3 separate regions of the Homo sapiens genome follow, and all the other regions are linked to region 1. The links are contacts of gene promoters, found by promoter capture Hi-C in blood cells and fetal thymus (Javierre and others, 2016). All regions are on one chromosome and are shown on one strand. The core of a region is centred on a gene start or on the middle of the fragment in contact, and the rest is flanking DNA. Distances in the headings are between cores, read along the strand shown.

Region 1 (2,817 bases), core at 97-2,596:
AGCTGGAGACCTCAACCCAGCACGAAAGAGAAACTACAAACCCACATGCTATAGGAACTGGTTCCCTCTGCACAGAGTGAAGGAAACCCTGAAGCTCAGAGACCCTAGAGACCCACCCAGGGAGGAGAAGAGACCGTGTCCCACCTCCTACCTCCGGGCTTCCCTGGAGCACCAGGGCCTGCACCAGACACGTAGGTCCTGCCCTCCCGGCCTCTGGACCATCGTGGAGGTCCCTCCTGTCTTTTGAGCATCTAAATGTGGATCTCCGAGGACCTCAGGGCATGAGAGATGGAGGGGCCGTGTGCTGAGTCTCCCTGTCCAGGCTCAGGTGCCTCTGCTGCCCTTGGTTTGCGCCAGGAAGTGCTTCCTCCCTGGCCTGGCCTGAGAGAGTCACGGGGTTGTGTAGACCTAAGGCTCTCAACTGGGGAGGACTTAACCCCCCAGGACGTTTAACAATGTGTGGAGATAATTGTTATTGTCTCACTGCATGGGTGGAGTGGGTGCTTCTGGCATCTGGTGGGGAGAGGCCTGGGATGGTGCTAAACCCCGGCCATGCCTAGGACAGGCCCCAAAACAAGGAGTCATAAGGCCCCACATGCCACAATGCCAGCGTCAGAGGCAGGATGAGGATGTCAGGCCTGTGGGTCAGGGCTGGTGAGGGGAGGGGCCTGCAGGATCAGGAGGGGCATCCAAGGTGCGGTCCTGGGGAAGCTCAGGCTCTGGTCCAGCTCCTCTCCTGAGTCCATCACCCCCGGCCCCCTCCCAGGACATGTGTCCCGTCTCAGCCGTGCCCTAAAGCCCTCATCACATTTGCCTTTGGCCTCTCTTGGAGCCCGTGCCTTACCTGTCACGTTCACAGAGAGCTGGTCATATTTATAATTCCATTTTATATTTCCTTTCTCCATACGAAAGAAGTATCTCCCCGCATCACTCATTCTGGCATCTCTGATGCTCAGGGTGCAATTTTTGGTCTGTGGGTCCCCAAGGAGGTGGAATCGGTCCCGAGTTTCCTCCTGCACTGCCCAAGCTGGGTTGTTTGTGGCCACTGGAGCCTTCCAGCTTATATCATTCCCTGCCCGGAACCAGTAGCCATGAACTGGGTCAGAGTCAGTCTGGCTGTCCACTGGGTAGGAGAAGGAGCAGCGCACATGGACACACATGCCCTCTTGCACGGTCACGGAACTCTGCATCGTCAGCGAGTAATCCTTCCGGTTACTCTTCTGTCCTTCCACCCTCTCCCTCCCCCAGAGCAGGGGCAGCAGCAGCAGCAGCAGCATATCTGGGGTTGGAGGTGCCAGGGCCGCGAGGGAACGTCTGTTCCTCAGGGTTCTTCTCTCAGGAACTGCGGGCTCAAGACTTAGAAGAGGCCCTACAGGAAGTCGGTGGTGAGGTCAAAACAGTGACCTCCTTAGAAGAAGAACTTCACACACAGACACTGTCAGGGCTGGGTCAGCCCTGGGAGATCCACCGTCCACCACCCGACATTCACTCCTGGGTCCCTGAGGCCAGAGCGGGAGACAGACTCACCCAGATTCCCACCCCATGCAGGGCCCACCCCACCTCCTGCCTCCCTCTCAATGCCTTTCCCTTTAGGTGATATTTTCTGCAGGGTGAAAATAACTCCCATCTGCCCAGACCCCTGAGTCACAGGCTGTGGATGTCTGCGTAGCTCAGAAGTGGGACTCGGGGCCATGAGAGACAGGGGTGCAGGTGGGGTGAACAGGCAGCCTCTCATCCCTCCCTCAGCAGCCACGAGGTGGGCACCCCCTTTCTGCACAATGAGGTCAACACAGCAGAGCCGGACACTGTCCCCAAGGAGTCACTGTGTGGTGGGGAGACACTGAGTCTCCTGACGTTTGAGCTCCCCATGACAGGAGCTTCAGTGGGGGGCACAGGCAGGGTGGGGTCACTCTCCCCTAGGTCGGGGGTTCAGTCTCAGGAGGACCGAGCAGACGGACATGGGGCTGTGAAGGTGAGGATTGCGCCTGTTGATACACGCCAAGGACACGGAGGGGAGCCCAGCCTGCAGGAGGCCGGGGAAGCTGAGGCTGTGATTGTTGTATTGTGGGGCTTGGTAGACAGGAAAGTCATAAGGGAAAGGATCAATATGAAAAGAGCAGACACTATTCCCATCCTCACAGCTCTCTGAGCACAAGGACATTTCCCTTCACCACTGCTATCTCATGAGGCCTGGTTAGTGCAGAGTGTGAGGGGTCTGCTGGCCCTGGGGCTTTGCTCCTGCAGGAACTGCTCCTAGGGGTTCAGGTGAACAGGAGACGTGGAGCAAAGACACCAGCCCCGGGGCGTCCACCCTCAGTGATGGGCGCGATTTTCTGAGAGAAGAAACACGCACCTGACTTCAACAGAAGATTATTTTAAACTGTGTGACTGGGCTGGGAGGAAGTGGGAAAAATCCTGCAAGCTGCAGCCCCCTTAGATCCAGGCCAGCTTTTCTTGAAACAGTTTTTTTTGAGCGGGGAGAAACACAAGACATGTACATAAAAGTGTCCCCTAAAAACCAACTCAGTGATTCACACAAAATAAGCACCCTTGAAGAACTAGAACACAAAAGAACTGTCAAGTCTGTCCCTTGAAATGAAGAAAGAGATTTTATTAATTCATTCACCCTTACATTCCCCTTTCCTATTGGCCATGCCCCCGCTCCCTCCTGAAGGAGCCCCTAGCCTCACTTTAATGATAATAGTCTTCCTGCTGTTCTATGTAGTTTTATCATCGGCACATGCTGCCTTGAAAATTCTAACTTCACGTAGGTTTTCCTGAAGATGTTGTATACATAGAAAATCCCAGTCTGTTTTC
Region 2 (2,817 bases), core at 128-2,627, 780 kb after region 1:
CTGTCTTTACTAAAAATACAAAAACTAGCTGGCATGCGCCTATAATCCCAGCTACTTGGGAGGCTGAGACAGGACAATCGCTTGAACTCAGGAGGCAGAGGTTGCAGTGAGCCAAGATGGCGCCATTACACTCCAGCCTAGGCAATAAGAGTGAAACTCCATCTCAAAAAAAAAAAAAAAATTTAGCCAGGGTGGTATCGGGTGCCTGTAGTCCCAGCTACTCGGGAGGCTGAGGCAGAATTACTTGCACCTGGGAGGCAGAGGTTGCAGTGAGCTGAGATCACACCATTGCACTGCAGCTTGGGCAACAAGAGCAAAACTCCATCTAAATAAATAAATAAATAAATAAATAAATAAATAAATAAATAACTCATCAATGCCCAGCCACCAATGAACATCTATAAGCATCAAGGCCATCCAGAATAAATGACCTTACCAAACAAATCAAATAAGCCACCAAGGACCAATCCTTGAAGAAACAGAGATATGTGACCTTTCCGACAGAGAATTTAAAATAGCTGTTTTGAGGAAACTCAAAGAAATTCAAGCTAACACACAGAAGGAATTCAGATTCCATCACATAAATTTAACAAAGAGATTGAAATAATTGAGAATCAGCTGGGTGCAGTGGCTCACGCCTGTAATCCCAGCACTTTAGGAGGCTGAGGCGGGCGGATCACCTGAGGTCGGGAGTTCTAGACCAGCCTGACCAACATGGAGAAACCCTGTCTCTACTAAAACTACAAAATTAGTGGGGCGTGGTTGCGCATGCCTGTAATCCCAGCCTGGGCAACAAGAGTGAAACTCGGTCTCAAAAAAAAAAAAACCAAAAAACAAAAACAAAAACAAACAAACAAAAAACAATACCCAATGATCTGTTGTCAACAAGAAACATACTTCACCTACAAATAAAACAGTAAGAGACTGGGTCCTGAAATGCGGGCCCACTTCATATGTGAGGGCAGGTGTCTAATCATGTCCTTTCTCCCTTCCCCCAGGCCCTTCACAGATACCTGCTGGTCTCTCCCACTTGGCCAAGGAAACACTTGTGGTTAATAAGTCTCAGAAAAGTTATGTGAAAGTTAAAAGTAAAACTGACAGCAGCTGAAGGATGGGGGGGTGGGAGGTGGTGACGGTGGAGGAGACCCCACCACCACTGCCACCCAAGTAGGGAGTGAGGAGCACCAGGAGCACAGGATGCTACTTCTGCCAACCCTACAAAAATACTCTGCACAAATCTTCAAAAAACATCCTTGTCCCACTGCGTCACCTGCGGACAGATTTCATGTCCTGGTCTCCTTCTAAACCTGGAGGTGGGGCATGAACAGGGTGGAGTCACAGGGGAAAGAAAATGAGGCCCCAGGACACCTGGGTTCACACCCAGGTCCCCAGCGATGTCTCCACCACCGCTGCTGCAACCCCTGCTGCTGCTGCTGCCTCTGCTGAATGTGGAGCCTTCCGGGGCCACACTGATCCGGTATGGTGACCCCATCTACCACCCCAACCTTAGGAGGGATTTTCTGCCTCTTGCCCTTTAAGTCTAGGACTCCCAGTTCAGTGATCCCCAAACTTGGCACCCAGGATCCCTAGAGCTTCTTTCTCAGCTTTCCAGATCTCTAAACCAGGCTGTCACCCCTAAGGGCTCCACTCTGACATCTCTTAAGACCAGATTTCTTTTTTTTGAGATGGAGTCTCACTCTGTTGCCCAGGCTGGAGTGCAATGGCATGATCTCAGCTCACTGAAACCTCTGCCTCCTGGGTTCAAGCGATTCTCCTGCCTCAGCTTCCCAAGTAGCTGGGATTACAGGCTCGCGCCACCATGCTCAGCTAATTTTTGTATTTTTAGTAGAGACGGGGTTTCACCATGTTGGCCAGGCTGGTCTGGAACCCCTGACCTCGTGATCCGCTCACCTCGGCCTCCCAAAGTGCTGGGATTACAGGCGTGAGCCACCGCGCCTGGCTGACCAGAGCCCTTTTATTATTATTATTATTATTATTATTATTTATTATTATTATTATTATTTGAGACAGAGTCTTGCTCTGTTACCCAGGCTGGAGTGCAGTGGGGCGATCTCAGCTCACTGCAACCTCTGCCTCCCGGGTTCAAGTGATTCTCCTGCCTCAGCCTCCCAAGTAGCTGGGACTACAGGCACATGCCACCACGCCCGGCTAATTTTTGTATTTTTAGTAGAGATGGGGTTTCGCCATGTTTGCCAGGCTGTCTTGAACTCCTGACCTCAAGTGATCTTTCCGCCTCAGCCTCCAAAAGTGCTGTGGTTACAGCTGTGAGCCCCCGCGTCCGGTCCCAGAGCCCTTTTAAGTCCCAGATCTTACAACACTGAGACTCTAGATTGAGGACCCCTCCCCCTCCTCTCAGGACTTTTTTTTTTTTTTTTTTTTTGAGACTGAGTCTCACTCTGTTGCCCAGGCTGGAGTGCAGTGGCGCAATCTTGGCTCACTGCAAGCTCTGTCCCCCGGGTTCACATCATTCTCCTGCCTCAGCCTCCCAAGCAGCTGGGACTACAGGCACCCGCCACCACGCCCGGCTAATTTTTTGTATTTTTAGTAGAGATGGGGTTTCACAGTGTTAGCCAGGATGGTCTCGATCTCCTGACCTCGTGATCCACCCACCTCAGCCTCGCAAAGTGCTGGGATTACAGGCGTAAGCCACCGCGCCTGGCCTTTTTTTTTTTTTTTTTTTGAGACGGAGTCTTGCCCTGTCGCCCAGGCTGGAGTGCAATGGCGCGATCTCAGCTCACTGCAACCTCCACCTCCCAGGCTGACACCATTCTCCTGCCTCTGAAAGTGCTGGGATTA
Region 3 (2,817 bases), core at 132-2,631, 610 kb before region 1:
GCCAGTCACCTGCTGTGCAGCCCACTTCCTAACAGGCCACAGACCGGTATCGGTCTGTGTATTGGTCTATGGCCTGGAGGTTGGGGACCCCTGCTGTAATGTGAAGTCAGGAGCTGTGGTAGCTTTCTTGGAGCCATGAAGTGGCAATCCCCAGGAAAAAAAGTCACCATATTAGGGATAAAAAAGAGAAAAGATTAAAATGAATGTAGTTCTTGATGATATTTTCCAGATATAACCTAACCTAGTATTACCCTCTTGCAAAATTCTTGTAAAGTAAACCATAAATTTCGTCTTGGTTCTAAGCTAAGCTTGTCCAGCCCATGGCCTAAGATGGCTTTGAATGCAGCCCAACACAAATTCATAAACTTTCTTAAAACATTATCAGATTTTTGGGGGATTTTTTTTTTTTTTTTTTTTTTTAGCTCATCAGGTATCGTTAGTGTTAGTGTATTTTATGTGTGGCCCAAGACAATTCTTCTTCTTCCAGTGTGGCCCAGGGAAGGCAAAAGATTGGACACCCCTTGTTGAAGCCATTGTTAGGTGTAATTGTAAATTATAAATTACTTAGAATTAAAAACAGCCCGGCTCATGCCTGTAATCCCAGCATTTGGGGAGGCTGAGGCAGGAGGATCACTAAACCCAGGGGTCTGAGACATGCCTGGGCAACGTAGCAGGATACTGTCTCTAAAAGAAAAGAAAAAACAGTCTTAATGCAACAATGCCTTGGTAATAATGCTTTTAGAATCAGTGTCGTTATCTCTGATTCTGTAACTGTCTTACCATATTTCTCCATATCACTCTGATACCCTTGGAAGGATGCTTAACATTTCAGAAAAACGGTTATTTCTTTGGGCTAGAAGACTACAAATGAGCTTCCACAAGATCAGAGGATTATGGGGTTAATCTTGGTGGTGTGCATGGGTGTGGACGCGCTGTCCTGCCAACTGTCTCAACTTCCCCCACTCCCTTACCTCTCTCTGTGTTTCTGGTCTCCATCCCTCATGACTTCTTCTCTTCCTTTCATTGCCTCCCTCTGATTCTTCTCACCACAGTGCTTGCTGCTTTCTTTACCTTGACCCTTGGAGGGAGCAGGGGCCCGGACACTTGGATTTCTTGGCCCTTGTTGTTGAGAGCACTGAACCTCTGCATCCCACAGAGACTGAGGCTGAGAAATACAGTCAGGTACATGAGTTTCTAAACAGGCCCAGCCCACTGTCCTAATGCCATTAAAGCAGACAGTATATTGGTGTATTCTTGGGGCCATCAAAAATCAGAAGAAGCTCAGACTTCCTATTTCCTGCTACCCAGCTGGTTTTAGTTCCTTTACCCCTCCTCCTGTTCCTTGGTGTATGTTTTGCTGCAATCATTAGAGCCTGAGTCACTCTCCCCAGGAGACCCAGACCTAGAACTACCCAGAGCAAGACCACAGCTGGTGAACAGTCCAGGTAAGAAACATATTCTGGGGGACTGGGTAGCTTGACATAGACACACTTAATACACTGGTGAACACAATAGACTCTTTGTTTGAAGAAGGATGTGGAGTTGAAGAATAATTTTTTTAAAGAGGTTCTAAACAGGCCGGGCACGGTGACTCATGCTTGTAATCCCAGCACTTTGGGAGGCCAAGGCAGGTGGATAACTTGAGGTCAGGAGTTCGAGACCAGCCTGGCCAACATGTTGAAACCTCACTTCTATTAAAAATACAAAAATTAGCCAGGCGTGGTGGTGGGCGTCTGTAATTCAAGCTACTTGGGAGGCTGAGGCAGGAGAATTGCTTGAATCTGGGAGGTGGAGGTTGCAGTGAGCTCAGATTGCACCACTGTACTCCAGCCTAGGTGACAGAGTGAGACTCCATCTCAAATAAATAAGTAAATAAATAAATAAACAAATAGGCTCTAGACTTTATTGGGGTCCTGATGGGAATGATGGAATATAGAGACACTATGAGGCTGCAGGAGAGAGAAGGGATAAGTGAAGGAGGGAAGTTCTTGAGTAAATGGGGGAATGAGTTTTATGGGACCAGTAGAGGGTAATTCTTGGATGGAAACACTTGTTTTCTGGTTACAGAGATGAGGGCAGAGAACAGTGATGCAGGAGCCAGCAGGAGGAGAATCTGGTGGAGCAAGAGGCAAGGGCATCAGCTTGAGGGCTTGAGTCGGGATGGGAAAGGATGTTTGGTTTGAAGCTTTCAGGAGAAAGCAAAAGAGCCCTAACGACTTTATGATGGGTCATGGGGAAATGAGTGTAATACAGAAGCAGTCACCTTTCGGATCAGTGATGAGTCTCCACGTGAAGACACTGGTTCTGCATGGTGCATAGGACCCAGTAGCGGAATACAGCCCTGCCCTCTCATGAATCTGCAGACATTGGCTGTCATTTCTCATCAAGCTCCTAGTTTCCTCTTCCGTCACACAGGGATGATGATGTATAATCAATGCTGAGTTTGTTGAGATCAGAGGCAAGAAAGTTGAGGATGTGGTACAATGATTATCAAGCATAAAGTCCTTCATCGATGGCAGCCACCAAGGCCTGTGTTCATTGCAAATCACAGGATTTTTCCCTTGAACCATAATTGGACAAAATTGCACAGGTTTTCCTCTCTGGTATGTTCCAGCTCATTATTGCAGAATCCTCATCATTCATTGCAACAATCTTCTGAACTGGTTGCCTTAGAGATTCTTGAGGACAAAGAGTCCTCAGGGTATTTTGGTGGTTGGATGGGTGGTAGGGGAGGGAGACATCTCTGAGTTGTTTCTGAGATTGTAGAGTATCAAAGTTCATTAGAAATGTGAGACACATATGTAATTTCAAAGTGTC

What was found. Contacts are between HindIII fragments. The CHiCAGO score rates a contact against its expected background, and 5 or more counts as called.
Region 2: the fragment with the promoter of NAPSA here is called in contact with the fragment with the promoter of SIGLEC7 in region 1 in 3 of 17 cell types (non-activated CD4 T cells, total CD8 T cells and M0 macrophages); the score reaches 6.8 in non-activated CD4 T cells.
Region 3: the fragment with the promoter of FPR1 here is called in contact with the fragment with the promoter of SIGLEC7 in region 1 in 13 of 17 cell types (neutrophils, erythroblasts, M1 macrophages and 10 more); the score reaches 15.6 in neutrophils.

The regions. Positions count from the first base shown.
Region 1 is chr19:51,140,830-51,143,646 of GRCh38, reverse strand. It overlaps SIGLEC7 (sialic acid binding Ig like lectin 7), which reads right to left and starts at 1,346. Exons shown (of 7, transcript NM_014385.4): 1 at 845-1,346. The coding sequence starts at 1,277. The HindIII fragment of the contact is 9,764 bases long and covers 1-2,817 here.
Region 2 is chr19:50,364,199-50,367,015 of GRCh38, reverse strand. It overlaps NAPSA (napsin A aspartic peptidase), which reads left to right and starts at 1,377. Exons shown (of 9, transcript NM_004851.3): 1 at 1,377-1,477. The coding sequence starts at 1,395. The region is part of intron 3 of LOC105372437 (a long non-coding RNA gene); the gene reads right to left. RefSeq lists an enhancer at 1,027-1,176. The HindIII fragment of the contact is 17,836 bases long and covers 1-2,817 here.
Region 3 is chr19:51,750,442-51,753,258 of GRCh38, reverse strand. FPR1 (formyl peptide receptor 1) reads left to right here and starts at 1,381. Exons shown (of 2, transcript NM_002029.4): 1 at 1,381-1,445. The HindIII fragment of the contact is 1,877 bases long and covers 311-2,187 here.